Linked DNA regions of Homo sapiens: region 1 is linked to region 2. Evidence: promoter capture Hi-C in human tissues and cell types (Jung and others, 2019). All regions are on one chromosome and are shown on one strand. The core of a region is centred on a gene start or on the middle of the fragment in contact, and the rest is flanking DNA. Distances in the headings are between cores, read along the strand shown.

Region 1 (5,008 bases), core at 278-2,777, 530 kb after region 2:
CTGAAATGGAGGTCTTATAACCTATGCTGAAGTCAAATAAAATATACAGATAAATCTGAAATTAAAACGTTTTATTTGGGAAGAAAGAATTGCAATTCAGAGCATATATGCAGACTGTCCGGTCTTCGGTATGTCTGAAGAACAAAGAGAAGGTTAGAGGTTTTATAGAAAGGGGAAATGTTTCATATTGCTCTTTGAGGAAGCTCATTGGCACTAGTAAGGTTTCAGAGAGCTGGCAAGCAAGCTCTGATTGGAGAGTGTTGGCAGTGGGTAGAACTAGTCTTAGAGTTGCAGCAGTTTGCTTCAGAAGCCATGAGATAAAACTGGTTTCAAGGCCAGGCATGGTGGCTTACACCTGTAATCTCAGCACTTTGGGAGGCTGAGGTGGGCGAATCACTTAAGGTCAGGGGTTCGAGACCATCCTGGCCAACATGGTGAAACCCTGTCACTACTAAAAGTACAAAAATTAGCCAGCCGTGGTGGCAGGCACCTGTAATCCCAGCTACTCGGGAGTCTGAGGCAGGAGAATAGCTTGAACCCAGGAGGTGGGGATTGCAGTGAGCCGAGATCAGGCCACTGCACTCCAGCCTGGGCGACAAAGTGAAACTCCATCTCAAAACAAAACGAAACAAAAAACAAAACAAAAAACTGGTTTCAGGTCATAGCAGGCAGTTTCAGCAGCCAGGCTTGCAGAGAATTACATTTTTGGAGCAATGTTATGTGCCCTGCCTGCTTCCCCCTGACCTCCTGACTCTGTTTCAGTTGGGTATGTCAAGAATGACCCAATTCGTATGATCTTTTCTTCTCTCCTTTCTTTTCTTTTCTTTTCTTTCTTTCTCTCTTTCTTTCTTCCTTCCTTTCTTTTCTTTCTCTCTTTTTCCTTCCTTTCCTTTCTCCTTTCCTTTCCTTACTCCTTTCCTTTCTCCTTTCCTTTCCTTTCTCCTTTCCTTTCCTTTCTCCTTTCCTTTCTCCTTTCCTTTCCCTTTCCCTTTCCTTTCCCTTCCTTTTCCCTTCCCTTCCCTTCCCTTCCCCTCCGCTCCCTTCCCCTTCCTTTTCCCTTCCCTTCCCTCCCCTCCCCTCCCCTCCCTTCCCTTTCTGTGTGTCTTGCTCTATTACCCAGGCTGGAAGACAGTGGTGCAATCATGGCTCACTGCAGCCTCCACCTCCTGAGCTCAAGCAATTCTTGGCCTCCCAAGTATCTAGGACTACAGGCACATGCCACCATGCCCAGCTATTTTTTTGTATTTTTTATAGAGGTGGGGTTTCACCTTGTTGCCCAGGCTGGTCTCAAATTCCTGGCCTTGAGTGATCCCTCAGCCTCTCAAAGTGCTGGGATTACAAGCATGAGCTACCACACCCAGCTGAAGTATGATCAACTTTTACACCTACAATCACACAAGATAGGCCAGATAATTTCTTTTTTTTTTCTTTTTTGAGACAGAATCTTGCTCTGTCACCAGGCTGGAGAGCCGTGGTGCGATCTCGGCTCACTGCAATCTCCGCCTCCTGAGTTCAAGCAATTCCCCTGCCTCAGCCTCCTGAGTAGCTGGGACTACAGGTGTGCACCACCACGCCCAGCTAATTTTTTGTATTTTAGTAGGGACGGGGTTTCACCATGTTGGCCAGGATGGTCTCAATCTCCTGACCTTGTGATCCACCCACCTCGGCCTCCCAAAGTGCTGGGATTACAGGGGTGAGCCACCTCACCTGGCCAGAGAATTTCTTTATAGCCAGCTCCAAGACAGGTAATTTATAAAGAAAAGAGGTTTATTTGGCTCAAGGCAGGAGAATATTAGAGTATATTTTAGTTTCTAAGGTACTATGGTTTGGATACTTAATCCCTCCAAATTTCACGTGGAAATGTGGCCCCCAGTATTGGAGGTGGGGCCTGGTGGGAGGTGTTTGGGTCATGGGGGTGGATCCCTCGTGAATGGCTTGGTGTTGTCCTCGCTGTAATGAGTGCTCTCTCTCTCTTGCTTCCTGTCTCTCCATGTGATCTGCACATGCCATATCCCCTTCCCCTTCCGCCACGATTAGAAGCTTCCTGAGGCCTCACCAGAAGCAGATACTGGAGCCATGCTTCTTGCATAGCCTACAGAACCGTGAGCCAAATAAACCTCTTTTCTTTATAAACTACCCAGCTTCAGGAATCCCTTTACGGCAATGCAAAAGAACTAAGATATACAGGCTGCCTTGGAGAGAAAAAGGAGCAGGTGAAAGGAGGGCAGGAGAAGCTCAGAGAGAGAGAGATTCTGTTTTCTGAGGCCTAAAGCACCCCAATGTTATGACAAGAGAATGTCTTTCACCTTTATGGCTCTGAAGGCTGTTCTGAAGCTGCTTCAGGAACTAAGGACAAAAGGCCAAATGTTATTTATTTATGTATTTATTTATTTTTTATTTTTTATTTCTTTTAAGATGAAGTCTCACTCTGTCTCCCAGGCTGGAGTGCAGTGGTGTGATCTTGGCTCACTGTAACCTCTGCCTCCCGGGTTCAAGCAATTCTCGTGCCTCAGCCTCCAGAGTAGCTGGCATTACAGGCGCCTACCACCATATCTGGCTATTTTTTTTGTATTTTTAATAGAGACGGGGTTTCACCATGTTGGCTAGGCTGGTCTTGAACTCCTGACCTCAAGTGATCTGCCCGCCTTGGCCTCCCAAAGTGCTGGTATTATAGGCATGAGCCACTGCGCCCAGCCCAAATGCTTTTAAAATATATACCTATTGTTTTAGTCACTTAGGAAATAACAAGGGCTATGGCACTTATCAACCAGGAAGTGTGAACAAAAACCAATATAAATATATCATAACATCACAACATCCAAGCCCAATGTGCCATTACAATGTTGGCTGGAACATCGTGCACTACTTATAAAAATGGGCCTTGGCCAGGTATGGTGGCTCACGCCTGTAATCCCAGCACTTTGGGAGGCCGAGGCAGGTGGATCACCTGAGGTCAGGAGTTCAAGACCAGCCTGACCAACATGGATAAACCCCATCTCTACTAAAAATACAAAATTAGCTGGGCGTGGTGGTGCATCCCTGTGGTGCATCCCTGTAATTCCAGCTACTTGGGGGGCTGAGGCAGGAGAATGGCTTGAACCCGGGAGGCAGAGGTTGCGGTGAGCTGAGATCATGCCATTGCACTCTAGCCTGGGCTACAAAAGCGAAACTGCATCTCAAAAAACAAAGCAAAACAAAACACCCCAAAATGACTGAGTTCTGGGAGCTTCTGAATATCTGCACGCGTGGAGGTTCCTGGAGGGTGGTACACCTGGAGGGGGCATGGAAGCTCCGCACCCCTTCCCCCATACCTTGCCCTATGTATCTCTTCATCTGTATCCTTTGTAATATCCTTGATAATAAACTGGTAAATGTGTTTCCCTGAGTTCTGGGAGCCCCTCTAGCAAGTTTTTTTTTTTTTTTGAGACGGAGTGTCGCCCAGGCTGGAGTGCAGTGGTGCAATCTCATCTCACTGCAAGCTCCGCCTCCTGGGTTCATGCTATTCTCCTGCTTCAGCCTCCGGAGTAGCTGGGACTACAGGTGCCTGCCACCACGCCCGGCTAATTTTTTTGTATTTTTAGTAGAGACGGGGTTTCACCGTGTTGGCCAGGATGGTCTCGATCTCCTGACCTCGTGATCTGCCCGCCTTGGCCCCCCAAAGTGCTGGGATTACAGGTGTGAGCCACCGCGCCCGGCCCCCTCTAGCAAATTAAATGAACCAAAGGAAGGGGTGGTGGGAACCCCGATGTATAGCTTGTCGGTCAGAAGCACAGGTGACACAACCTGGGGCTTGCCATTGGTATCTGAAGGTGGGGGCAGTCTTGGGGACTGAGCCATCAACCTGTGGGATCTGAAGCTATCTCCAGGTAGAGAGTGTCAGAATTGAATTGAATAGAATTGGAGGACACCCAGTTGGTGTCCACTGCAGAACTGATTGCTTGATTGCTGGTGGGGAGAAATCCCCACATATTTTGGGGTCACGGAAGTCTTCTGTGTTGATTGTTGTGTGAGACCAGAGAAAAGACAGTTTGTGTTTTTTCCACTCAGACTTTGGCTTGCTAGAAAACAAATAGAGAAGCCGGGCGCAGTAGCTCATGCCTGTAATCCCAGCACTCTGGGAGGACGAGATGGGTGGATCACCTGAGGTCAGGAGTTTGAGACCCATCTGACCAACATGGTGAAACCCCGTCTCTACTAAATACAAAAAATTAACCAGGCATGGTGGTGCATGCCTGTAATCTCAGCTACTCTGGACGCTGAGTCAGGAGACTCGCTTGAACCCGGGAGGTGGAGGCTGCAGTGAGCTGAGATCGCACAACTGCACTCCACCCTGGGCAAGACAGAGTGAGACTCCGTCTCAAAAAAAAAAAAAGAAAAAGAAAAAAGAAAAAAAGAAAAGAAAAAAGAAAAAGAAAACAAATGGAGGCCCCAGCTTGGAGTTCATTGCCATGCCTGCTCTAGCCCCAGCAGTAAGAATTGCTTCTTACTGGACTCAGCGTCAGCAGTGCAATTCTTACTGCACTGATTTAGTGAGCATGACTTAGCGATCACTCAGACAACTGCTCTCCCACGTGAGGATGGTGAAAAAATGACGCTGCAGCCAGCGTCAGAAGTTTCGTTTTATAAGCAGTCGTGCTGTGCTGTGCTGGCAATGGTGCCCTGTGGTTACCACTTTCTTACAGAGCTCACAGAAGGTGTGCTTCAGCTTTGGGATGCTGAGATGAATGGGCTTTGGAGAGAATTTGACAGTTCAAAAAAAACACTTCCGTTTTTAGACATGCATATTTAGCTGTTTGGGAATGCAATTGTTTCCTTCTTGAATGTCAAATATAAGAGTGCTACAGGCCGGGCACGGTGGCTCACGCTTGTAATCCCAGCACTTTGGGAAGCTGAGGCAGGCAAATCACTTGAGGTCAGAAGTTTGAGACCAGCCTGGCCAACATGGCAAAACCCCGTCTCTACTAAAAATACAAAAATTAGCCGGACATGTTGGCGGGTGCCTGTAATC
Region 2 (5,121 bases), core at 2,494-4,993:
GTTATCAAACACTAGTTATTATTTCTTCTATCAAACCATATATTGATTTATGACAATTCTAAACATTCATTCATTCATGTATTAAATCAATAAATACTTAGTTAAGCCCTGTGTGCCAGGCATTGTTCTAGGCACCAGGGAAAGTCACAAACAAATCAAAATCTCTGTCCTCATGGGGTGGGAATGGACAACAAACTAATAATGTCAGGTGGCAATAAGTGCTGTAAAGAAAAATAAAGCAGCAAGTAAGAAGGACAGAGTGAAGGGGCAGAGTACTATTTTATAGGTGGTCAGAGAAAATCTTTCTGATAAATTGTATGTAAACAAGGACCTAAAGGACTAATGAGAAAGCAATTCACACAGATTTCTAGGGAAAAAGCAAAGGCTCTAAGATGGCAGTGTGCTAGGCACTAACAAGAAACATCAAGAAGGTTTGGAGGCTGGGCACAGCGGCTCACGCCTGTAATCCCAGCATTTTGGAAGGCCAAGGCGGGTAGATCACCTGAAGTTGGGAGTTTGAGACCAGCCTGGTCAGCATGGTGAAATCCCATTTCTACTAAAAATACAAAAATTAACCAGGTGTGGTGGTGCATGCCTGTAATCGCAGCTACTCGGGAGGCTGAGGCACAAGAATCACTTGAACCCGGGAGGCGGAGGCTGCAGCAAGCCGAGATCACACCACTGCACTCCAGCCTGGGCAACACCGTGAGACTCTGTCTCAAAAAAAAAAAAAGGTTTGGGAGGCAGAGGTGGGAGGACTGCTTAAGCCCAGGAGTTCAAGATCAGCCTGGGCAACATAGTGAGACTCTTGTCTCTACCAAAAATAAAAAAATTAGCTGGGCGTGGTGGCGCATGCCTGTAGTTCCAGCTATTTGGGAGGCTGAGGCAGGAGGAGCAGTTGAGCCCATGTCGAGAGGCTGCAGTGAGCATGACTGTGCCACACTGCACTCCAGCCTGGGCAACAGAGTGAGACCCTGTCTCAAAAATAAAAAAGAAACATCAGGAAGGGTAATGTGGTCGGAACAGGATAAGCAAAGAGGAGAGTTTCAGGACATGCAGTTAAAGAGGTAAGGGACAAACCAAAAGTGGTTAAGAGGTTGGAGAAAAAAAAAAGGTTAAGGAACAGAGAAGGCACATCATGTAAGGCCTTAAAGGTAAGATGACCACATGTTCTGGTTTTCTGGTTTGCCCAAGACAGTCCTGGTTTATGCCTCTTGTTCTGACATTATTATCATCAGCCCCATTATGCTCAAAAGTGTCCCGGTTTGGACTATAAATTTTATGGTCACTATACAGATGATTATCAATATTTTTTTTTTTTTTTTTGAGATAGGATCTCACTGTCACCCAGTCTGGAGTGCAGTGGTGCGAACATGCTCACTGCAGCCTCAACCTCCTGGGCTCAAGCGAACCTCCTGGGCCCAAGCAATCCTCCCACCTCCACCTTCCAAGTAGCTGGAACTACAGGCTTGGGCCACCACACCCAGCTAATTTTCTATTTTTGGTAGAGACAGAGTCTCGAACTCCTGGGCTCAAGTGACCCCCTCCCCTGCCTCAGCCTCCCAAAGTGCTGGGATTACAGGTATAAGCCACCACACCTGGCAATTATCAACACTTTTTAATCTCAGTGAGATGGGGAACCATCGAAGGGTTCTAAGCAGAGAAATTTTAAAAGAATCATCCTGGCTATTTTGTGGAGAAGAAACTATAGAAGGGGCAAGGGAACTACAGAGATACCAGTGAACTGACTATTGCAGTACACAGGTGAAGGATTAGGTGGCTTGGACCAGCACTTGGTGGAAGTGTTGAGAAATGGTCAGACTCTGAAGTCAAAGATAACAGGACTTGCTGATGTATGTAGGATGTGAAGAGAGAGGAGCCAGGAGTTATTCCAAAATATTTGGCCTGAGCAACAACAGGAAGAATGGAGAGACTAGTGAGATAGCAAAGAAGGTTCTGCAGGAGGGAGGACAGTGGAATCAGGAGTTTGGTGCTGGAGTTGCTATGTTGAAATGCCCATCAAGATACTGAAATGTAGGCATCTGGATATAGAGTCTGGAGTTCATCAGAGAGGTCTGTGCTGGAGATACAAATATGGGAACCATCACATAAAGGGTGTGGGACTATAACTACATACTTATTCTACGGCAATAAAACAGATGTTCCTCTCTTCATAAGCCAAGTCCTAAAATAGTAAAAAGACAACCACAATTCAAGGAATTTCTACAAATCCCCTATGGAAAAGCAAATTACACCACCGATAGCAGCAGTTTTCAACATTTTTTTTCCCACAGCTCTATATAGGCACATACATGAAACTTTCTCATGGATATTCTTGGATTTTTATGAAATCCAACAATAAATGGTGCAGAGAGGTATATCATTATAATAGTCCCTAAACCTGACAGCGATTTAAATTTCTCATTAGCCATGGGTAGGCTTCTTTAACACTACTTTTTTCTGTCCCATTCAAAAAAGTACAATACATCAAAACTGAGAATGACGTTTTACAGGAGTTAAGTAGAGCCTACTCTTTCAGTCATCTGCAAACAAGTATCTGTTATCAGTCTCTAAAAACAAATTACTGTGACGCTTTAGAGCCTAATATCTGCATACTAATGTATCTCAATTGATAACCCTGATCTGAAGTCTTGCAATAGATAAAAAATAAAATTCTGATTAACTTTTTCTGAACCTGGGTTATAAGATGTACAACAGAGTCCCAAAATGTTACGGTGCCTTTTCTTCACACACTGAAATTCGTTAGTATATTCTGATCCTATTCTGAAGGGATTAACAACTTAATCATGCCCCAAGGCATTTCATGGGTAACTAGGTGATTTATAAACCCCCTTCATACTCCAAGAAATAACAGACTACTTACAAAAAAATTTTACTCACACTAACTTCATTAAGACCTCAAACACTCAAAAGTTCCAGAAAAAAAGTACTTTGAATTCAAATTTGTATTTTATACACAACGTATGTAGCTCCTGCATTAACTTAGAAGCAATAACAGCTTACATTTAAAACGTATCGTCAAGAGGCTGTAATACAAATTTCCCATCTATAGAGTTTTTTCTAAAAGCTCGAATATTATGTATTCCAGCCAAGAAATCAAGAGAGTTCTGTTGGGAACTCGGACAAAAATTTCACACAATTTTCAGTGGAAGTGTAACAACACGCAAAATTAACAAGTCTCTGTTGCATCGTTGCCAGGAAGACCCCAGATACAAAGCTTCTTCTCCACCTCTGCTGAACCCCAGGAGTTCAAAAATTCTAGACTAAGCAGTCCAGCGGAGAACACAGCAGCCTCTCGGGGAGAGGGAGGTGCAAACGTCTCAGCCGGTTGGGCGGGAAGGGGGGCTGGGGAACAGGCAGGGGTTTCGGGGCACTTACAGGTCCGTCAACACCATAAGCTCCGAGTAGGCCCGGTGCAGCAGAAATTCAATGAGGGTGCTCAGCCGGTAGCCCGGGCTAGCCGCAGCTGCAGCGGCCGCCGCCACGGCGGCTCCCGGGGGAGGAGGGGCTGGGGCTGACGGGGGTCCGCCGCTGCCCCCGCCGCCGCCTCCGGGCGGGACCAGCTGGTGGTTCTCCAGCTGCACTGGGGCCATGGCGGCGCAGGACCGGGCTTGGCGCAACGGCACACGATGCGGTCCTCGAGCCTCCCGGGCGCTCGGTCACCGCGCCGAAACGGGAGCGGGCAGAGTCGCCACCGCCTACCGCCGGGCCGCCTCAGAACAGGAAGCCGTGCGCCGACCGCGGAAGCCCGCCCCCATGTAGCGAGAAGTCCGCCGACCCCAGGGACAGGAGCGAGGGGCGGGGGGAGGCGGGGATGGGGGGGAAGCAGGGCGGCCCCGCAGAGGGGAAGCTGCGCCTCCGCAAACGCTCAGAAGCAGCTTCGCCAGACAGCCGCAACGTACATGTTGACTGCCCGAGGCGGAAGTCGATCGGCAGAGCGGAAGGGGGACCTGCAGAGGACCTTCCGACAGGTCTGTGTCTGTTCTCTCAGCTGTCTAGCACCGCAGCGCTGGGGGGCGCGTGGGAGTGAGGCGGTACCTGTGAGCGCGCGGGAGAGCGGAAAAGGGAGCCGCGCGCCGCCGGAAACCAGGGTGAGGGCTGAGCCGGAGTCGTCACCGGGAACGTCAGCAGTTGCCCCGCCCTTACCCTCGCCGCTCTCCCTCCCGCCTCCGCCCCCTGGCGTTGTAAAGGCGACAATTTGCCCAGAGAAATCCACCATCGCTTCCTAAGTGGGGCACAAACACAGCCAGGGGAGGCCTCCTCTAAATGTTCGTGAATTCTGGTTCTGGAATCGCGAAGAAATGGGAGCGGCCGCGCGCTTGTGATTCTCAGGCCTTTGCTCCTCCCATACACGTCCACGGCGCGTTACGTGGGAGAACGTTTTCGCCCCTTTTTTTTTTTTTCCAAACTGTGGGAAAAGGTGCTAGAAAATATGATTGCGGGTAGAGACAGGGCCGCTGGCAGAGTAACTCAATTTTAATAGAGTCGGGTGTATGCTGAGGTCGTCACCATCCCCCAAATCCTGTCAGTCCCACACAAAAACGGCCCTTAAATCCCCTGCCACGGGCTCTCATATAGTTTTTGTCCTTGCTCTTGCAGTCACCGCTCTATTCTGAAGGGCTTTTCAGTTCATCCATGCCTACCGACACTCCCGTCCCCCCCATCAAAGTCCACGTTTAATTTTTTGTACCTGCTTTAAAACAGCGATTCTCAACCTTGGCTGCACTTTGCAATTATCTGAGGAGCTGTTTTTTAAAAAAATACTTAGATATATGGGTTCCACCCCTGTAGATTCAGATTTAATTGGTCTGGCTTGAGGTCTGGGCTTGGGGAATTTTTGAACTTTCCTAAGGTGATTCTAACATGCCCTAACGTAGAGATTCACTATTAGAAGCATTCGTTGCTGCGACCCCTTTCAAACATCTTTTTGCAGTTTCATCTCCTCTTGGTGTAAGAGATGTTCATGATGTTCCCTAAGGTTAGAATATTCTTACTGTCATCACTTGGGTAATTCTTTATCATTGTTGAAAGCGGTTCATCTGCTTCTGAAGGTGTAAGCTCACTTGTTCCCTCCCTTGGTGGTCCTAAAGCACATTGAAA

The links. The method cuts DNA at HindIII sites, captures the fragments that hold promoters and counts their contacts. A contact is called where the count stands out against the background at its distance.
Region 1: a contact is called between a fragment that was not itself captured here and the fragment with the promoter of MED14 in region 2, in 1 of the 25 tissues and cell types used here (lymphoblastoid cells).

Annotation. Positions count from the first base shown.
Region 1 is chrX:41,261,246-41,266,253 of GRCh38, forward strand. No RefSeq gene overlaps it. Among named protein-coding and RNA genes, the nearest start is that of LINC02601, 12 kb to the right of the region's middle. The HindIII fragment of the contact is 8,576 bases long and covers 1-5,008 here.
Region 2 is chrX:40,731,799-40,736,919 of GRCh38, forward strand. It overlaps MED14 (mediator complex subunit 14), which reads right to left and starts at 3,744. Exons shown (of 31, transcript NM_004229.4): 1 at 3,400-3,744. The coding sequence starts at 3,614. MED14OS (MED14 opposite strand) reads left to right here and starts at 3,892. Exons shown (of 2, transcript NR_169211.1): 1 at 3,892-3,992. RefSeq lists enhancers at 3,114-4,035, 4,036-4,956 and silencers at 3,352-3,731, 3,992-4,081. The HindIII fragment of the contact is 8,620 bases long and covers 1-5,121 here.